Linked DNA regions of Homo sapiens: all the other regions are linked to region 1. The links are contacts of gene promoters, found by promoter capture Hi-C in human tissues and cell types (Jung and others, 2019). All regions are on one chromosome and are shown on one strand. Each heading gives the region's core, a stretch centred on a gene start or on the middle of the fragment in contact. The rest is flanking DNA. Distances are from core to core; before and after follow the strand shown. Region 1 holds the start of SDK1 (sidekick cell adhesion molecule 1). Region 2 overlaps SDK1 (sidekick cell adhesion molecule 1). Region 3 overlaps SDK1 (sidekick cell adhesion molecule 1). Region 4 holds the start of LOC124901576 (a long non-coding RNA gene). Region 5 overlaps GNA12 (G protein subunit alpha 12).

The links. Contacts are between HindIII fragments. The study calls those that stand out against the background at their distance.
Region 2: a fragment that was not itself captured here is called in contact with the fragment with the promoter of SDK1 in region 1 in 1 of the 25 tissues and cell types used here (dorsolateral prefrontal cortex).
Region 3: a fragment that was not itself captured here is called in contact with the fragment with the promoter of SDK1 in region 1 in 5 of the 25 tissues and cell types used here (dorsolateral prefrontal cortex, heart right ventricle, hippocampus and 2 more).
Region 4: a contact is called between a fragment that was not itself captured here and the fragment with the promoter of SDK1 in region 1, in 1 of the 25 tissues and cell types used here (dorsolateral prefrontal cortex).
Region 5: a fragment that was not itself captured here is called in contact with the fragment with the promoter of SDK1 in region 1 in 1 of the 25 tissues and cell types used here (dorsolateral prefrontal cortex).

What each region holds. Positions count from the first base shown.
Region 1 is chr7:3,299,998-3,302,503 of GRCh38, forward strand. It overlaps SDK1 (sidekick cell adhesion molecule 1), which reads left to right and starts at 1,255. Exons shown (of 45, transcript NM_152744.4): 1 at 1,255-1,887. The coding sequence starts at 1,590. SDK1-AS1 (SDK1 antisense RNA 1) reads right to left here. Exons shown (of 3, transcript XR_001744897.3): 1 at 2,232-2,506. RefSeq lists enhancers at 1-334, 335-846, 1,556-2,056 and a silencer at 732-1,281. The HindIII fragment of the contact is 11,292 bases long and covers 1-2,506 here.
Region 2 is chr7:4,183,037-4,185,542 of GRCh38, forward strand. The region is part of intron 35 of SDK1 (sidekick cell adhesion molecule 1); the gene reads left to right. Among named protein-coding and RNA genes, the nearest start is that of FOXK1, 500 kb to the right of the region's middle. The HindIII fragment of the contact is 3,667 bases long and covers 1-2,506 here.
Region 3 is chr7:4,007,774-4,010,279 of GRCh38, forward strand. All of the region lies in intron 14 of SDK1 (sidekick cell adhesion molecule 1), which reads left to right. Among named protein-coding and RNA genes, the nearest start is that of SDK1-AS1, 660 kb to the left of the region's middle. The HindIII fragment of the contact is 5,333 bases long and covers 1-2,506 here.
Region 4 is chr7:3,951,314-3,953,819 of GRCh38, forward strand. SDK1 (sidekick cell adhesion molecule 1) reads left to right here. Exons shown (of 45, transcript NM_152744.4): 7 at 417-607. LOC124901576 (a long non-coding RNA gene) reads left to right here and starts at 622. Exons shown (of 2, transcript XR_007060195.1): 1 at 622-725. The HindIII fragment of the contact is 3,750 bases long and covers 1-2,506 here.
Region 5 is chr7:2,727,797-2,730,302 of GRCh38, forward strand. It overlaps GNA12 (G protein subunit alpha 12), which reads right to left. Exons shown (of 4, transcript NM_007353.3): 4 at 309-2,506. It also overlaps a transcript of AMZ1 not described here. Among named protein-coding and RNA genes, the nearest start is that of AMZ1, 41 kb to the left of the region's middle. The HindIII fragment of the contact is 4,731 bases long and covers 1-2,506 here.

The DNA.
Region 1 (2,506 bases), core at 5-2,504:
AAACCACCTCCTGTTCGGCGGCTGTACTTGGACCTCAGTTTCCCTGTTTTGTTCACGTGGTCATTGTTAAGTCTTAGGGGACGTGTACAGAGGCTAATATTGAGCCACCAATCAGTTATTTGACAAATACCATAGGCGCTCTGTGAGCAGGAGCTGGCTCCTATCCCAGACCCCAGCCCTGTGACCTGCTCTCCACTCGCCCGGGGTCTTTCTTGGCTGGGACAATAAACCTACTGCATCAGGTGATTCCTGGGGAGTCAGCCCCGTGCTGGGCTCACACCCAGCCCCTCTGCGTTCATCTCTTACATGATCTCATGCGACCATCATCACACGTCCCCAGGCTCCTCCCGGGCCAACTCCAGAGGCAGTGCGTGTCACCTCCAGCTCTCCTCCCACAAAAATGCTGGCCTTTCAGCCTCCAGTGCGCTTAGTTCACCCCATAAACTCTGCTAATGCTTACCACATGCTGAGCGTCGGCGCCCGTCCCCACCCCCAGCCCCACAGGCTCCCGGGTCCCGCCCTGGGAGACCCTCCCACTGGCCGACCCTGCCCCAAGACTCGCCCACTCCACGGTGGGAAACCTGCAATGTGTCCCTCCCTACCCCGCCCTCCTCCAGCGCCGGCCAAAAGTGACCTTGGACGCTTCTACAATGCCATATCCACTCCTCTGAACAGGAGGCGAGTTTGCACCCAGTGGTGCCTTTGGTTGCTAGAAATTAAAAACCCGATTGCGCGTGTTTGCAATTACGGTAACTTGGCGCGTCACCCCCAAGCACTGAGCTAGCTGGTGGTAGCCGGGCGCCTCTCGGGGCGCGCCCTATTCCGCCCTCGGCCCTGGGCTGCCGCACGATCTGCGCGTCCTGCTGCACCTGAGCCCTTCCCACTCGGGCGCCCGCACCGCTGCGGGGCCGGGCGAGGATGCACCACCCCCGCCCGCGAGCCCGCCACGGGAGCGCGTGCCGAATCGACGCCGCCTGCAGTCCCCACTACGGGTCCCTAGGGGGCGCAGCCGGCGCGGGAAGCCGCCCGAGCCAGGCGCCGCGGCCGGCACAAAATTGCAGGCGGGCGGGCGCCGCGACTTTGAAAACAAGCGAGGGCCTGGGGGGCGGGCCCTGGGAGCGGGCGCCGCCTCCCTCGGCCAATCAACGGCGGGCGGCGGGCGGCGGGCGCGGGCGGCGCGTGCGGCCGGGCTGTGAATGGGGAGCGGCGGCCGCGGCAGCTGAGGGCGAGCGCGACCGCGACGTGCGGGCGGGCGCACTTTCTTCTCAGCGCCGGGCGGGGGCGGCGGCGGCGGCGGCTCCTCCGCGCCCGGCGGACCCCTCGGAGCTAGCGCGGCGGGCTCGGGACTGCGTGAGCGCCGGACGCGAATTTCCCCCGTTGACAACTTCTTCTCGCCCGGCTCGTCCCCGGCCCGCGCCGCGCCCCTCACGCGGGGACCCAGGACGCCGCCCCTCAGCGCTGGGCGGCCGCTCACCTCGGGCCGGGGGGCGCCGCGCCTCCCGCGGAGTGGCCGCGCCCGCTCGGAGCCGTCCCGCCTGTCCTGCCCGCCCGTCCGTCCGGCGCGGCGCTCGGGGTGGCGGCTGCTCGGCATGGCCCGGGGCGCCCGGCCCTCGGCGGCCGGTGGCGGCGGCGGCGGCGCGGAGCCCCCTGAGCGCGCGGGCCCCGGGCGGCCGCGGGGATCCCCGCCCGGCCGCGCCCGCCCCTCGCTGGCGCCGCGCCCCGGCCCGGAGCCCTCGCGACCCCGGGCGGCGCCCGAGACCTCCGGCGGGGACACGGCGGGCGCGGGGCGGTGCGGCGGGCGGCGGGCGGCAAAGTTGGGGCCGGGCCGCCGCGGCTGGTGGGCGCTGCTGGCGCTGCAGCTGCACTTGCTCCGGGCGCTGGCGCAAGGTAGGTGCGCGCGGGGTCGCGGGCCGGGGGCGTCGCCTCGGGGCGCGGAGGCGCGAACTTGAGCAGCGAGAGTGTGTCCGGGGTCCCCCCGCTTCCCGGCCCGGGTCGGGATGCGCCTTGCTGGGGGCTCTAGGGAGCCCAGGGGCTCCTCCACGCCAGACTCGGAGGAGAGGGAAACGGAGCCCCGTAGAGCCTGCACCCCGTCTGCTACTTTGCGTTTTATTTTTTTTATACCGCAGTAGCACAAACAAAAATTTTTAAGTTGAGGACCCATTTCTCAGCTCCTTAAAAGGATGCCCGAGTCCCCTTCCCATTGCATGGATGAAAAAGGGGCTGGTCTGTACCTGAGTCTTCGCACCGCAGGGTCTGGTTTCCGGTGAGTGACATCCAGAAGACTTGGAAATATCAAGTGCCAGTCGCTGTGAAAAGCCTTTTCCAGCCCCTCCCCAGGGCCTCGTCCTCTCCCCAGCCCCCGCCTGCTCCTGACTCCCCCAAGTCCCAAAGCCCGACCCCAAGTGGGTGCTGCGCGGCCGGTGGAGCAAAACTTTCAGTGCCCACAGCTTTTGCACTTGGCTTTGTTTTTCTCCCTCTATTGGCTTCTGTTTAGAATACAGTGGTG
Region 2 (2,506 bases), core at 4-2,503, 880 kb after region 1:
TGGTGGGCGTGGGGGCTAGGGAGTGGGTGCTGCTGATTGGCTGGGGATGCCATCACGGGGCGTGGAAAACGGTCCTCATGTGCTGAGTCCACCTCTGAGCGGGGCCACAGGACCCCCTAAGCCGTGAGTCGTGAGTCATGAGTCCAGATGGGGTCAGTCCATTTTCAGAATGCAAAAGTCTGAAAAGCATCTCAAAAGATCAATTGTAGTTTCTATAATAGTGATGTTATCTTTAGAAGCAACTGGGAAAGTCACTAATTTTGTGACCTCTGGTCACATGCCTCCTGAGCAGTGAGGGATTACTTACCCAGCTTACAGGCTGGGTGCGGTGGTTCATGCCTGTCATCCCAGCACTTTGGGAGGCTGAGGTGGGTGGATCGCGAAGTCAGGAGTTCAAGACCAGCCTGGCCAACATGGTGAAACCCCATCTCTACTAAAAATACAAAAAATTAGCTGGGCATGGTGGTGCATGCCTGTAACCCCAGCTACTCGGGAGGCGGAGGCAGGAGAATCGCTTGAACCGGAACCCGGGAGGCAGAGGTTGCAGTAAGCCAAAATCGCACCACTGCACTCCAGCCTGGGCTACAGAGCAAGACTCCGTCTCAAAAAAAAAAAAAAAAAAAGAAAGTATGCTTATATTTTAGCCGAGTTCAGGCTTCTCCCATACTCCTAATCTCTCAGCCTTTTATTAGCTTTACAAAGGCAGTTTCCACCCCCAAACGAGGAGGGGGATTGGCTTTAGGGAAGGACCATTATCAGCCTTGCTCTAAGTTAAACTAAAAAGTAAATTCCTAGACACGGCCCCTGCATCCAGGTCTCTGCTCCACCCCACCCATCAGATGTGGCTTGGCTCTTGCACACCCAAAACAACTCACACATCTCCTGTGCCAGGCCTGGCAGTGCCAACCCTGCAAGTGGACATCTCAGTTGTTTGGCCTCAGCACACTCCTCCGGGTTCTGTGTTTACACTGCAGAGAGTTTTCTGGAAGGAGAAAGCCAGTTCGCCATTCCCTTTCTAGCCTCTGCTTCTCGCAGCCCAAGTACCTGCATTGTAACAACCCTAATCTGCTGAGGAGAGGCACTGCTAACGTATTGACTTAGAGCAAGTAGGCCTTCAGAAGAGGAAATTAAATTGGGCCAGCTTCCGTCCCCTCGGCTGGAAGCTTCAGAGCACCACAAACTCGTGGGCCCGAAATGCTCAAAGGCTTTTATGAAAACTAAGACTTTGCTGTGGTCCCATAGGTAAGCGTGCAGGTCCAAGCGTCGGCTCTACTGTTTACTGCCTGTGTGACCACGGGCAAGTCACTTAACCCCTCTGAGTCTGGCCTTGAGACCTTGTGCTGCTGTGGGGAGACCTGTGAGTGAGGAGACTCAGGTACTGGCTTCATTGCTGCCACTAAGGCACCAGTCCTGCTCATAAGATGAGTGTCCAGAATGTACCTGGCCCGGGGTCAGCCCCCAGTCAGTATTTGGTGAATGAGGGGGACCCTGGGTGAGTGAGTCGGTTTGTCTGGCCTCATCTGTAAAATGATGAAATGTTCAGAATAGATGATCTCTGGGTCCCCTGAAGTTCAAATACGTGATACTTAAATCTGTTTAAACTCAGAGAGGAAGGATAATTTTTAGATTTTTAGCTGAGATTGATGCACAAGCCCAGGCACTACAAATTGGTAAAAATAATCCATCGGTAAGGACTCCAGTGTGCAGGAGGTAGGACCCAACGCCAACAAGCTTAAGCTGAAAGAATCATTATTAACTCCTGCACTGGAAGAGTTGCAGAGCCTGGGACAGCTTCAGGCATGGCTGGATCCAGCGCCCCAGCAAGCTGCTCCATGTGGCCTCTTGGATCCACTTTCCTCCTAGTTGGCTCCTTCCTTGGTCAGGCTCTTCATCAAGGTGGCCATACAGCCCTGGGCACAGAGAGCTTCCCTTTTCTGCAGTGGAAGTCCACTGGCTGTCTTCAGCCTGCCTTTAGTTGCATATCTGTCCCCAAACTAGTTGCTGCAGCCAACGTCCTGAGGTGCCCAAAGCCAGGGAGATGTCATCTCTACCTGGACCACCTGGGCCAACTGTGAAGCGAGAGGGTCCCTAGAGGAGATCCAGTGCGACAGTCAGAAGAAGGGGACTCGGGCATTCACCACCACAGCTGTCCTGCAGTGCTGATAGGCAGAGTTTGACTAGGTGGCCAGAAATTTTTCTGGTGGAGGTATGGACAGTGTCTATGGGTTCCTCAGCAGGAGAGCTCTTCAGATGACCCAGCCAGAGTTCTGGGCCCAGCTCCACATTCCACAGCGTTCCGGGCACTGTGGGACCACGCTCCAGCCTTCAAGACACTCACTATTCATGGATGGGCCCTGGTCTCAGGTTAAGCCTGCACTCCTGCCCAGACCCCAAGCAGGCATCTCAGCCCCTGCCTGTATTTCCAGAGCCCCCAGGCTTCCCCCTCCTTGAGTATGTGCCCCCTCATCCATACCAAGCTGTTTCCGCCTGGGATGACTGCTCCCTA
Region 3 (2,506 bases), core at 4-2,503, 710 kb after region 1:
TTTTGTATTTTTAGTAGAGGCGGGGTTTCACCGTCTTGGCCAGGCTGGTCTTGAACTCCTGACCTCGTGATCCACCTGCCTCAGCCTCCAAAAGTGCAGGGATTACAGGCATTGTTTTAATCTTTAATGGTAGTGAAACACACATAAAAAATCCATCATGTTCACCATTTGTAAGTGCACGGCTCAGTGGCATTAAACACATTCACACTGTTCTGCCACCGTCACCACCATCCTTCTCTAGAGCTCTTTTCATGTTGCAAAACTTCTGCACCACTAAACAGTCGCTCCCCGTTGCCCTTTCCCCTGCTCCTCCTACTTTCTGTCTCTGTGAATTTGTTCTAGATGTCTCATGCAAGTGGAATCATACAGTATTTGTCTTTTTGTGACTTATTTCATGTAGTATACTGTCCTCAAGGTTCATCCATGTTCCGCCATGTGTCCTAATTTCCTTCCTTTAAGAAGCTGAATAGTAGACATTGTATGGACAGATCGTATTTGTTTACCCATTCATCCATCGGTGGGCAGTTGGGTTTGTTAGGAATAACGCTCAAAATCCTAAGGAAAGTGAACACACGAACAAAAGATTCTTAGCAAAGCAATTTTACTTCTGCGCAGAGGGGTGCCTCCTTGGCCAGTCGCCATGACAGCACACCTGAACAAAGGGGCACGAGAGCCTTTATTCCTGACGCAAGTCCTGCCCCTGTACCCTTTCCCCATTGGCCGGGGTCGGGTCATACAATCTAAACTAATCCCGGTTGGCTGAACCTTTGATTTTTTTTAGATAAGGTGGGCACGTAAAAGAAAGCGAAGAGGAAAGGGGAAGGGGTGTTCTGTAATGAACTAGAAAGTTAGTCCTCTTTCCAAATAAAGGAAGGAATGTGAGCTGCTACTGATAATGCCTGGTACTGTGGCATGCCTGGGCATCTAACAAAGGCAAAAAGGAAAAAAAGGGAAAGGGCAGCAGGGGGAAGGGTACTATAAATTAAAGAATAAAAGATTGATTGGGTTCTTTGAAGAGAAACCTCATCATATCCCTCAGGTTGCTTCTACCTTTTGGCTACTGTGAATAAAGCTGCTTTGAACCCAGGTATGCACATATCTCTTCGAACCCCTCCTTTCTGTTCCTTTGAGTGTATACTGAGAAGCAGAATTGCTGGATTCTATGGTAATTCTGTCTTAATTTTTTGAAGAGCCACCATACTGTTGTCTGTAGCGGCTATACCATTTTATATTCAGAACAACCGCGAAATGGGGCGGAATTTCTTCACATCCTTCCCAACACCTGTTATTTTCTGTTTGTGTGTATGTGTTTTCTTTTCATAATAGCCACCCTAGTGGGTATTAGATGCAATATCATTGTGGTTCTGTTTTGTCCACTGTTTTCACGGAAGTTCAAACAAAACTGAACACCCTTAAGTGGGAGAGCTCGTAGTCAGCTGTGGTCTCCATGCTTCTTTCTTCTACATACCAGTTCTCTTCAGAATGAGAACGGTATTTCCATGGAAGCTGGACTTGGCACGAAGGGGCCCTGCCTTCTACCAACCGAGTCTGGTTGCCCTGATACTGGGAATGGCCTTTCGTCTTCTGCATTGACAAATGGCTGTTTTCTGTAAGGGAGACTGCTTAGCAAACCAGATCACCATGAGCTGCATGATACAAGTGGAAGGGTTTTAGGCTCCCAGAGTAAAAAGGGAAGTTGCTGTGAGTTCTTCTGTAGGTAACTGGGAATGCGCACATTTTGTTTTTAAAGGAGACACACAGAGAGGGGGATCCTCATCAGCTGCCCATTATCCATGTCACTGGAAATCAAAAGCCAAGAACGCTGAAATGCCCAGCTGGTGGCGAAGACTGCGTTCCCAGAAAGCCATTTTTGGAAGCAGCTTGATTTGAAATAATTAAAAAGATCCCATCTTCATCGCCAACTGGCTTCATGCTTCAGAGCAGCTTAACTTTGTGTTAAGGAATCCAGTGAGCAGATTCTGAATTAGTGATAGACACCTCTGTGTGAGGCAACAGAAGTTTCCTTTGAGAGTCTCATTTTCATTTTGGAGCAATTTATGGCCACTGCTTGGTGATTGGTAAGGAGCTGGAGTGCATTTCCAATGAGCTCGCAGGCGCAGACTTACGAATCCCCGCGGTTGGGGCTGCAGGTTTTTGGAGAAGCGGCTGGGATTTTATGTGTGGATGCTGACACGCAGCTGGTACTGTCTGCAGGCTCTGCCTAGCCCAACACTATGGTGGAAAGCATGTGCCACCTCTTTCTGACCATCTCTAATGTGGGTGAAAGGGACCTTAGCGCCACTTCAGGTCAGCGAGACAGCTCGATTTCCAGAAGAATTTCCCCCACCCAGGTTTTACTTCGCTAGTAACTTGAAAATTCAGTTCAGGCATCATCACAATTCAGAATGGGAACCGACAGCGGATGCTGGAAGTCACTGCCAAGACTTTGTTCATTCCAGGGCATCAGTCTACAAAATGACTGGGCTGAAAAGCCTGTTTAAACTCT
Region 4 (2,506 bases), core at 4-2,503, 650 kb after region 1:
GGCAGAGGAAAAAGTTCATTGCTCTTCTCCTCTTAGTCAGCCAAGGTGTTCTCTGCCTACTTAGCGGTCGCTCCAGAATCAAGCTCGGATGATCCCGCCTTCCATGTCGTTGTGTCCCCTCACAGTATTTATTTTAAACATTCATTTCCTGAGCAAATGGGATCATTAGCACTTATGGTCCATTGCTGCGGCAATTAGATATCCTTGCTTAATAGCCCTTGAGCAGAATGCATCGTCAATGCGTGCTGGGAGGGAGTAGAGTTACATCTAGATTGAGTTTTCAGTGTCCGTTGTTCAACCCACCATGCACCCTGGTAGCATTAGCTTCGTCAAGCCTGTGCCGAGTGCCTGAGATGATGACCGTTGCCACCTCCCTGAGTCACAATCGTCGTCATGAATGCCTTTCATTCCCACAGGCCTGTGGAGGACCTGAGTGTGACCTGGAAGAGGAATGGAGTGAGAATCACCAGTGGCCTCCACAGCTTTGGAAGACGCCTCACCATCAGCAACCCGACGTCCGCGGACACCGGGCCATACGTCTGCGAGGCGGCGCTGCCGGGGAGCGCTTTTGAACCGGCCAGGGCGACGGCCTTTCTTTTCATCATAGGTAATGCGGGAGCCTCTAAGTGGTGTTGCCAGCATCTCAGATAGCATCCGACACTGACTCTTCTGCAGAAACAAAATAGCGTATTTCAGTGGCTTTATTTGTAACTCGGCAAATGAAGGTGAGGTTGAGTTTACCTTCGAAATCCTTCCTAGCCTTCTTTCCCAAGAATATAAGTCCATTAAATCCAAAGTGTTGATGTTCTCAATCCTTCCAAGAAACGTCCTTCTGAATACTCCAGTCACAAAGCTCGGGAAATAGAGCGGTGAAACCCCTGTCATATAGATCCCTCTCCTATTCTAGCTTTAGGCTGCTAAGCTTTTCTGTAACTCTTATTTGGCTATCGTGATCGGTGTTCAGAAACTATTCTATTATTGCTGTCCAGGCATGGTGGCTTATGCCTGTAATCCCAGCACTTTGGGAGGCCAAGGTGGGCGGATCACTTGAGGCCAGGAGTTCGAGACCAGCCTGGCCAACATGGTGAAATCCCGCCCGTCTCTACTAAAAATACAAACATCAGCTGGGCGCAGTGGCGGGCGCCTATGATCCCAGCCACTCGGGAGGCGGAGGCACGAGAATCACTTGAACCCAGGAGGCAGAGGTTGCAGTGAGCCAAGATCGCATCATTGCAACCCAATCTGGGCCACAGGAGCAAAACTCCAACTCAAAAAAAAAATTATTAATTTAGAAATTATTCTATTAATTATTAATTTAGCTGTTATTTTTTGACCTAGCAGAAAATGTAAAACTATCGGATGTTACCTTTTGTTAAACTTAAAAAAAAAAAGAGAACAGAGATGCTTCCTCAAACTGGGCGACATATTATTCCTGAACCAAGGAGAAAGAACATAAAATTAAGTACACTGGAGTTGCCCAGCTCTAAATGCTGGAAACTATTAGTGTTTAGGGAGTGTGCATTGTACAGTGGCTAAGAAAATACAAAACCTATTATCAGTTTATGAGGAGGTTAAGTTGTGAGGCAAGTGACTTTATTTCTCTCATTTTTCCAGCTACTGTCATGCATTTATTCTTCATAAGTGGCCGTGATGACTATGAGAGCAGCCTGTGTTCCGCAGTGGTAGCCGCTGTTGATAAGAGGTAGCCTTAGAGGCCGCCTCTAGGAAGGAGAATCTCGACTTCCTCTCTCCTCTTTGGGAAAAAGGGGAATTGAGAACAGGAAAATTCAAATAAGAAAACCCTCAGAGAGCCCCTTAAATAAAAAAATTTGCAGTCTGCCACTTTGCAAAATAAGGAAAAAAAAAAAAAAGCTTGTGTTTTCCTATGAAACTAGCAAGAAAAGGAATACTGCACAAAAGGTGGTTTACCTTGATCACGTCCCATTCCTTTAATCATTAGGAAATGACTCCATGTCCTGACCTTGACTCTTCTAAATACAATGCAGTGCAAACCTGTCGGTCCCTCTGAAAGAAGCGAAAGTCTGTTAAAAGCATCCAAGGAAGCCGGCTTTGAGTCACCAATCACTGTTGATTCTACATGAGAGGCCTGAGCTGGTATTGCTACCTTCCCCATCCATGCTTCCGCTACAGATGTAAATATCACATCCCATTCTCTGCAAAGATTTTTTCATCGAGGTTGATCTGTAGTTCTAGGAGCACAGCACATTATAGATTCAGCCAAAATTAAAATTTGCGACGTGTAAATCTCTAGTAGACAGGACTATACCGTGTTCAAACATTTTAAGGTAATTTAAACAAGAGAAGAAATTTATCTCCCTTTAAACGAGAATGTTTGTTTCGATCATCATTCCTTTTTAAAATATTTAAATCTATCTTAAGAGCTTTAGTTTTACATTTATATCTGATTAGTTTTGTGTTCTCTCGAGTTAGCACCTCTCCGTGTTCTGACTTTTAAAGGTACACAAACACACTTCACTTCTTTATG
Region 5 (2,506 bases), core at 3-2,502, 570 kb before region 1:
CAGCACTGTGGGAGGCTGTGGGAGGCTGAGGTGGGCCGATCACGAGGTCAGGAGATAGAGACCACCCTGGCCAACATGGTGAAACCCTGTCTCTACTAAAAATACAAAAAATTAGCTGGGTGTGGTGGCGGGCGCCTGTAGACCCAGCTACTTGAGAGGCTGAGGCTGAAGAATCGTTTGAACCCACGAGGTGGAGGGAGACTCTGTCTCAAAAAAAAAAAAAAAAAAAAAATTAGGATGAGAGTGATCTGCTGTGAATCCTGGGGAATGAAAAATCAATTTAGTGTTGGTTTTGAATACTGGCACTATTTTATATTAAGCAAAGAAAGACTAAATTTATTTTAATAAACATTCAGAGGCTGAGGGTGGCCAAATTTTCAAGCCAGACCCTCCCAATGTTAATACACTGTGCAAAGCTTACACCATGAACAACTGACCCGGACCACTACCATTCCAATGGGAGCCTCTGCCTTACAATACCAGGTTAGATGTCTGTGCCCAGAACCCCTAAATTAGTTACAACTAATAATCTTCTTTCAAGAGTTTTTTTTTTCAATCTTGGAGTTAACAATCTGACTTATTTTTCTTTTATCAAAGAAGTAGGAAAATTACAATAAGAATTCTAGAGATCTCTATAAATTACAGACCTATGACTCAAAATCCTTGAAACAATTTCTCTACGAACATAAGAGTTAAAAATAGATTTCAGTAAAACCCTATATGCGTCTTATGTGTACACAGTATAGCTATGAGGAACAGATCTTATTTTGAGGAACTTTATTGTTACATTTTTGCAATAATTGAGGCACAACTACCTCCTGCTTTTCCAACATCTTAATAAAAAAGACAATAAGGATTAACAGTGAAATTAAAATTAAAAAATACAAAAGCCTAAGGTTCTGGAGACAAAACTGACTAGAGTCTATGTGTAGCCAAGTTGTGAATGACAGTTTAGCCTTGCAGAGTTTCCTTCTTCTCCAATTACAATGTGTTACAGAATTTGGAAGGGGGTGTCTTTAAAAACGTTCTAATTCACCCCGGTCATGAGGAGGAGGAGGAGGAAGTCCAGCTCAGCAAGGCCAAGTGCCTCGGCCAGGGCGGTGGGGTCAGCGCTGAGCGGGTCAAGAGCCCGCGCCGGGGGCCATCCCCCTGCGCTTTCTATCGAGTTAAACGGACCCCACAATATCTCCTTCCTCTCATGCTTCTGGTTTGAAAGTGACGAGTAAATATGTCAGACTGTTTAAAGGAAAACAAGCACTCATTGACAAGGCCGGACTACTCAGGAAGGTGTTTCAAACAACTCCCCTGCTACGCGAATCACAGCGCTGCTGTCGCCAACAGCGCCGCGAAGAGGCTCTCCCCGTTGGCGGAGGACCCGCTTGCACTTCCTCTGGGCTCTGGATTCTAACACACACAGGAGACACAGCGAAAGCTGACCCAGAAGGCAAACAAAGCTCACCACGCTCCGGACCGGGCTGCGCGTCACTGTTGCAGACTGCAAATGGGACCTGAGACCACCCCGAGGGCCCCACCAGGAGCTCTCTTTCTCCTTTAAAACGTGGTCATCGGCACTCATCTCCGGTCACATCCGTGAGGTCTGTGAAGAGCCACAGAAGCAGTACAAAAACAGCGACTTCTTTATCCAGCCAAAAAAGGAGCCACAAGCCCAGCAAACACTGACACACAGCCTCGAGCACTGCGAGAGAGAGTTCCATGCTGTCTCCCGATGAGAACGCTGTGCTAACAGGGTGACCCAGAGGCAGGTTTCCCCTCCCTCTTCTGCTTCTGCATCTGCCCCAAGGGCTTGCGTTTACCGGGTTTGCGGAAAACAAGCCAAGGGTGAGCTGCAGAGGGGCTCGGGGCTCGGGGCAGCACGGCCTCGGGACGAGGGCCCTGGGATATGTGACTGAGCCACAGCAACATTCGGGTGCCAATTAAGAGGACGCTTTTCATTTTCTTGTAAATGCTAGGACACATCCCAAAACACACTAGGCAGGATTTCTCAGTAGAGTGATACACAGAGGGGACCAGCTTGGAATGCAATGTATTTTAAACACAGTGAAAGCCACCTGGCAGGTAGCTGGACAAGTGAGCTGGGCCCAGGACTGGCCAGCTCGTATCAACATTCACAGGCTCCCGCGGGCTCCCCCAGGACAGCGGCATCCGAGAGTGTTTACTCTTCTGCAAGCACAGTCATAGAAGCGAGGGGCCTCGATGAGAATCAGACTTAGGGAGAGCGGCGAACAGGCACGGCTGTCCAAAGGCACTGGTGGAGCGGCAGTTTGGAGAAACTCAAGATTCCTCCAGCGTCTGTGGGCTTCCCGAAAGGTCAGCTGTTAGCTCGCCAAGCAGCTGGGGCATTAACAAAAGCTCTGCTAGTGGCCTTGCCAGCTTTCTGAAGCCCCAGAAGAGGAATGTTTCTGAAAGAAGGAAACGCTATGTGCTGCCAACTGTGTGTGAGCAGATGACTTGCAGGAAGATGGGAGAGCCGTCTGCAAGGGGACCT